Regions from separate parts of the Homo sapiens genome. Here region 2 is linked to region 1. The links are contacts of gene promoters, found by promoter capture Hi-C in blood cells and fetal thymus (Javierre and others, 2016). All regions are on one chromosome and are shown on one strand. Each heading gives the region's core, a stretch centred on a gene start or on the middle of the fragment in contact. The rest is flanking DNA. Distances are from core to core; before and after follow the strand shown. Region 1 holds the start of GNG4 (G protein subunit gamma 4). Region 2 overlaps NID1 (nidogen 1).

The links. The method cuts DNA at HindIII sites, captures the fragments that hold promoters and counts their contacts. A CHiCAGO score of 5 or more calls a contact.
Region 2: a fragment that was not itself captured here is called in contact with the fragment with the promoter of GNG4 in region 1 in 1 of 17 cell types (neutrophils); the score reaches 5.5 in neutrophils.

The regions. Positions count from the first base shown.
Region 1 is chr1:235,648,308-235,652,092 of GRCh38, forward strand. GNG4 (G protein subunit gamma 4) reads right to left here and starts at 1,477. Exons shown (of 4, transcript NM_001098722.2): 1 at 1,355-1,477. RefSeq lists a silencer at 1,342-1,451 and an enhancer at 2,442-3,293. The HindIII fragment of the contact is 10,274 bases long and covers 1-3,785 here.
Region 2 is chr1:236,018,595-236,022,001 of GRCh38, forward strand. All of the region lies in intron 9 of NID1 (nidogen 1), which reads right to left. Among named protein-coding and RNA genes, the nearest start is that of NID1, 45 kb to the right of the region's middle. The HindIII fragment of the contact is 2,204 bases long and covers 909-3,112 here.

The DNA of each region.
Region 1 (3,785 bases), core at 227-2,726:
CTACTATTTATTAAGTGCCACAGCCATCTCTTATCATGACCGGTCACTGAGCAAACCCTACATTTCAAAAACAATCCAGTTTATAGGTCCTCTGTCTGTTTCTCCGGGCTGGAAAAGGCTTTCCATTTATCAACTTAGTTGTCCCCCCAGTCGCCTCTTGCAGGGAACAGGGCCAGATCAGATGGCGGCTGGTTCCCCTCCCCCGCCTCATACAAAAATCAGGAAAAGGAGTTGCGGGAGGAATCGAGAAGCCGGCCGCAGAGCCCAGGTCCCCCATGGCTACTGTGAGGCATTCGCCGCTGCAAATTTCCTGTCCACTGTGGGAAGCGGCACACCTCACTCATGAGCAGACGACAGGACTGGCACGTTTTAATGGAGCACACGGGCGCAGCCTAGGCGGCCTTTTGCTCCGGCTGAGAGGCACGGGCCCGGTGCCAGCATTTGACAGTCCTGGGAGGCGACGGGTAGAGGAGAGACGCGGCAGCCGCGGGGCCGGGGAGACGGTGGGAGGCCCGGCGTCCATCATCCACTTTATTACTTGATCAAACTTTAACATTTTCGGGTTTCCTAACACCTTAGCCCCAAATACTCGAAATGAAGCAAATCTTAAATTAAGGAGTCTTTCCCCACCACGCTCTGTCCTCCTCCCCACTTCACCCTCCCGCCGTTTCGCGTTATTTCCAAGGCAATTTAAAAAATCAAGCCAAACAAAGCTCCCCGGTTGCTGCCGGGCGCGCGCGGCGAACGAAGCACATTTCAGTTCAGCACCAGCCTCGGGGACAGACGCCATCAAGGAGGTGAGGAAAACCACCCTCAGCTGCGGTGGCTCCAGCGTCACCCCGAGTGCTCCCGAGGCGGCGTCTGGGCTGCTGGGGAGCCAGGAGGGCTTCCTCAGGCACTCGCCAGAAACATTTCCCCAAAGAAAACGCCCAACCAGCCACGCCATCTCCTGCCACTGAGGTCCTTTTCCACGGGGGACGTCCCCGCTGGGAAAACAGCAAACGCTCTGTGACCTACAAATGGAAGAGGGGACCCCCGAGCCCCCGCCTGCCTCATGCCGGAGGGACCGGGCGCCCCCAGCCCCGGAAGCCCCTGGACGCGCTCCGAGGGGGCTGTCCACACCCGCGCGCGGGCTTCCCCGGGGCCCGGCGGGAGGTCCCGGGAGAGGAGGCCGAGGGAACCACAGGTCTTTGTGTCGCGTGCAGCAGCAGCTGGCGGCGTGAGGACCACACCGGCGCCAGAGCCGTCTCCCTAGGTCCGGAGACTTTCACCCCGAGTTTCCCTTCCGCGTCTGGCTGCACCGGGCTGGGCTCTCCCCGCGGACACCCGGGGCTCCGGCCGGGCGCCCACTTACCCGGAGCGGGATCACGCGCGGGCTTCGTCTGCAGCGCGGTGCTCGCGGGGGGCGGCCAGGCCGAGCGGCATCGCTCCGCATCGGGGCGCGGGCCGGGCTCGGGTGCAAACGCGCGCCTCGTGCCCCTCCCGCCGCCCGCGGGGTCTCCGCGTCCCGTCACCGGCCCCGCCCCGCGCCGCGCCTCCCGCCCTGCAGGGCCCGACCACGCGGGCCTGGGGGCGCAGGCGGACCCTCCCCCGGCCCTGGACGCTGGGGGCTTCTGCTCGGCCCCCTGTGCCGTGGGGGCCCAGACTGGGGAAGGGAGAGCCGGCGACTCTGCGACCCTCGCCCCCGTTCCACGCTGGCCGCGCCCACTCCGCCGCGGGGTCTCGCCCGGGAAATCCCGCCCGCTGCCACCGACGTCACTGCTGCGTCACCGGGGCTCCCGCGCTCCCCGCCCCCGCCCCCGCCCCAGCCCGGGCCCGCGCCCCCCGCCCGCTACTCGGGCCCACGCCCCCTGTCCCAGCAAAGGGCCGCGCCCCCGCCCCGCCCCCCCGGAGCCCGCGTGGCCGGGGGACCACTGGAGGGGTCTGTGGGGCGGGGCCGGGGGGTAAATCACTGGGGGGGGGTCTGGGGGGCGCGGCGGGGGGGAGATCACTGGAGGGATCTGCGGGGCGGGGCCGGGGGGGAAATCACCGGAGGGGTCTGGGGCGGGGCCGGGGTTGCTGGAGGGGTCTGGGGACGGGGCCGCGGTCAGCGCGGGCTCCCCGAAGCCTCAGGTACCGCCCTCGCTCGGGGTGAGCTCCAGCGCCTGGGCCGTTGGGGCGCGGGCCGCTTCCCACCCTGCACCAAGGGACGCCTCGGAAGCCTCCGGCCAAGGCGGGGAACGGCGGAGAAACGCGGAATACCTGTGCGAATTCGCGCGGCCGCGTCGCCACTAACCCGGCGAAGGCTGACCCGACGTTGCTGAGTGACGGGGACCAGGGGCCGGCGAGGCCCCCACTCCGGGGGGAGCGAGGCCGGGAGGGCGGAGGGCGCGTGCTGGAGGCGGGGGTGCCCTTCGCGCCCCGGTTCTAGGAGCGACTGCTCTCCAGGCCTCGTCCCTGTGGCACCGCAGGCTTTTGCGCTGGAGATTTTAAAACACTTTAGTGATTACAGCCCTCTTCCTTTCAGGGAAAAAACAGTTTAAGCGCCGTCCATTTTCCGACTTGGTAAAATAATACGAAACCTTGGGAATAGAGAAGCAACGAAAACATTTCACGCAGTGTTGGCAAGATTTGTAGAAAAGGAGGCCAATATTAATTCCCTTTGTGAAAACAACAACATAACATCATGATGAACGATTAGGAAATATTTCGGGAAGATCTGGGCGCCTCATCCTCATCCGCCGTCCACAAGCGGTCCCTGCCACAAAGGACACAGGGCGCGCTTGTTGCTCAGATCCCTGGCCCCACTGGTTGGACCTTGCCCTACACACACGTGTACCTTCTCGGAGCCCAAGGGCCAGATTGGATGCGAACGCGGAGATCACAAAGGCCCGTAAACACGGGGCCAGCAAACACATCGGTTTTTACAAAGCTCTCAAGTGCCCATTTAAGGCACAAAATTAAACCTTGGCAAACCGACGAAGCCAGTCCATGTCCACCTCACAGACTTTTAAAAGTGAGAAAGATATATGAGTACTGCATTGAAAATTCAAGCAAATCCAAACCCTAGCTCATTGTTTTCACCCCAAAATCTTATTTCTCCTGCATTTCCTGCCCACCTCCCGCCCCCGACTGGTTGGCTAAGGCAGAATCCTAGGTTTCCTTTTATCCCAAATCCCAATCTCAATTAATCAATCACAAGGGAAATCAGTGTCTACACTTTCAAGCGCATCATTTCCTTATTTTATCTTTCTAATTGTTACACTATCATTCAAGATAGGATCATGTCAGTTTTAAACAGGAGGAAGAGGTCAGTCAACAAGTGGTTCCAGAGTGGATCCCAAGACCAGTAGAATCAGCGTGTCACCTGGGAATCTTTTAGAGATGCAGACTCCCAGGCCCCACCCAGACCTAAGGAATCAGAAACTCTGGGGGTGGGGCCCAGCAACCTGTGATTCCCCAAACCCTCCAGGTAATTCTGATTCCGTTCATCTCTGGACATCACCCAGGATAGCTGCAGTAGTGTAAAGTCTGGCACCAGGACCCTGGGTATCAGTTTTCTTTCTTCTTATTTATTTATTTTTTTTGCGGAGTGGGAGGGAGTCTCGCTCTGTCGCCCAGGCTGGAGTGCAGTGGCGCGATCTCGGCTCACTACAACCTCCTCCTCCTGGGTTCAAGCGATTCTCCTGCCTCAGCCTCCAGAGTAGCTGGGACTACAGGCGTACGCCACCATGCCCAGCTAATTTTTGTATTTTTGGTAGAGATGGGGTTTCACCGTGTTGGCCAGGATAGTCTCGATCTCTTGA
Region 2 (3,407 bases), core at 761-3,260, 370 kb after region 1:
GAACAGTTACACAAGGTCCTTCCCACGTCAACCTCATACTCAGAGTGTAGACAGCTACTTCTGGCATTTCTAAAACCCTGAGATGTGCATGAGGAGGGCCTCCCAAAGTGCTGGGATTACAGGCGTGAGCCACAGCCCCTAGCCTAAAACAAATTTAGACATGTTTTAGACCTAAAACAAATAAGACATGTTTCTCATAATGGCCGAGACCACACAGCTCTTCTCCCCCTCATAAATCTCTTCCCCAGCGCTTTCATATGAATCGTTGACATGTGGGAGTCAAAGCCTCCTATGTCCACCTTCAATGTCCAGTCTAGCCAGGCCTTTATTGGTGAGACAAATGTCCTACTGGCCTATTGGTCAACATTGCACAAGACAAGCATTCTTGATCACATCAGCCTCATAGTTTGTCCTGTACCCAGGCAAATACCCAAACCAAATGCTCTTCAACTTTTAGAGATTATACTGATATGTGCGTGTTCTGTGACGTGTTTAAGACACAAGGTCTCAGGACTGAACCAGGCACTGCCAGAAGGTTCTGGAACAAAGCCCCTCCCAAAGCAGGCTGTTATGCAAGCTGGAGCTGGGGAGGCTGTGGGGGAGGAGTGCACCCAGCACGTTTGGACTTCACAGCTCCATCCATCAGCTGCCGCTGCAACATGGGAGAAAAAAGGGGCTTCCTGTGTCCACTGCCTCTGTGCTGCAACTCTCAGAGGACACTCCCAGCACAGATGTCTGGAAACATTGTACATATTGCAGGGCTCAGTGACTTAGACTGCATTGCCAAAGCACGAGAGCACAGAGCAGCAGTTTTCAATCAAGAAGACAGAGCAAAATCACAGGGGATCTTCTTCAAGCTCTGTTCCTCCCTGGGAACATTTACGCAAGGGGAAGCTGTGTTTTGGAAAAGCTTCTATGTGACCAGGCTCTTCTCTCTAGCCCTACCTGAAAAGCTATTGACAAATAGGACCTCAGGGCTGCTGGGATGATGGAGGGAATGGTTCCCTAGCACAACCTCCACCTCCATGCCGGCTTACACATACACGCCAGACTAGACAACACCCTTTCTTAAGGGACAAGACCCTAGCAATTTCTGAGCTAATAGTCCACGGTCTTTGCAGTTTGGAAATTCTTCCTAATGTATAATTTAAATCTTCTCTTCTAGGACCAGGCACGGTGGCTCAGGCCTGTAACCCCAGCACTCTGGGAGGCTGAGGCAGGCAGATCACCTGAGGTTAGGAGTTCGAGACCAGCCTGACCAACATGGTGAAACCCCATCTCTACTAAAAATACAAAAATTAGCCAGGCAGCATGTGCCTGTAATTCCGGCAATCCGGGAGGCTGAGGCAGGAGAATTGCTTGAACCCAGGGGGTGGAGGTTGCAGTGAGCCGAAATTGCGCCATTGTACTCCTGCCTGGGCGACAGAGCAAGACTCTGCCTTAAAAAAAAAAAAAAAAAAAAAACAAAAACAAACTTCTTTTCTATAAATTGAAGCCAGGTCCTTAACCCTTTCTTCAGTGGTATTGAAAACTGGCAATAACTGTCTCTCATAACATACCACAGTATCTGCTAGAAAATGATTATTCTTATTATTTAACATCTGGTCAACCTCTTCTCTGGAAAGAGATTTCCTTTCACAGGATCACTTTCTAACTCAATAGGAAAATCCTGGATCATTCTTGTCATTGCTGCCTCCTTTTTGACTTTTTTCAGAGTGGCTACTTTTCACATATTTTCAACAACTCTAAGTTTCTCCAATTTTTCCCTTTTATAAAGGCCAGGCTCTTAGAGGAGAAGAGTCTCATTACCAATTTGCTAAATGCCTTCTACATACTCGACGATTACTCAATGAGAGATGAGCCAAAACTATCTCTACGGGCTCTAAATTGAGAAACAGCGGGAGCCATCCTGCCATGGACCAGAGTGAATCACAGAGCTCTGTGAAATCGTCTCCAAATTACTGTGGAGAGTCACTGTGCGACGTCTCACCAAAACCACCCTTGTTTGGGGTGTCATATACCATCATATCAGCGCTGCACACACTGAATCACAAAGGCTCATCCTCATTCTCCTCTAACGCACTTCCCAAGTCCAAATAACACATGAAGTGATCTGCTTAATGCAATTTCCTATTTTAAGCCTCATGTCTCGATACATTAACACTTCAAGGCATGTTCTAGTGACCCAGAACAATAAGTGTCCTGACTGGGAATACACTCGCATTCCACGGAGGTAATAAGTCAGAACAACCACTCACCACAGGACAAAAGCAAGTCTACATGCGACCACCTGTCTTTCTGGACAAGGATATCGGAGGATTTTCTAGGATGGTGCAGATTACATAAAGGATGGCTGGTTGTGCCTTCTGAAGTGAAGCACTCCCACTGTGGCAAGCTCAGGCACCAAGGGCAGAATTAGCCACGAGGTCACAGTTCAACAGCAGCAGACTGGGTTACTTCTGCACCTTATTACTATCCAGGAGGCTTACGAAGTTGAAGCAGAGCTGTGTAATGAGGAGGCATGGATCGGTGAAGGAGCCCCATCCCCGCATGCCAGCCGTCTCACAGCCTGGGAGGGCTCCCGTTCACACACACACACACAGCATCATGCTGCTTTGAACTGGCCAGAGCCAATTCAGCCATTCAAGGCTGTCAGGCTCTTTGCAGGAAATACTGGGAAACTGACGATTGCAGGTGAGTAGGCACTATGTCCCCTCCCTAGCGATACGTTACCAGGAAGGTAAGTCCCAGACTGAATTCTACCACATATACAAAGCTATCAGCAAGCTGGCCAAACATACAGCCTGCACTATGCGCACAAGTTCCTGCCCTCCAGTATTTCAGACACCCTGACAGGCACCTTGCATGAAAGGTTCACTATGAAGCCAACACCGCGAGGCCCTGACAGCAGGATCTTCTAACCTTCATGTTACATCAGCACACCAAATCTGCCATTAGCTGCGGCTGCTGGATTCCAGACCTCAGGCATGATTCCCGAATTCTGAGACTGCTGGGCTTGCCAGATTCTTATATCTCTGTCAAGCAGGGGTAGAGGGAGCTGTTCATTTTCCTGGCCAACCATATGTGAACACACTATTCATCCCACCAGGGAAGCTTACTTCTAGCATTCCTTATGCTCATTAGTGAGCCCTCTCACTAATTGCAGACTTAAACAGCACTGCTCGAAGCACTTGGCATTCTTGCCCTTAGTAGTGGACTGACTTCCCCTTGGCAGTAGATTACAATTTAGTAACAAACAAATATCAAGCTGCCTACATGAAAGTATTTGAACTTAAGTTATAAATAATAAAATAACTGCAACTAGAAGATGGAGTAATACGATGCTTGAGTCAGAGACTTGTGTTCAAATACTATATTTGTCACGGCTCACTTTAATGAGCCTCAGT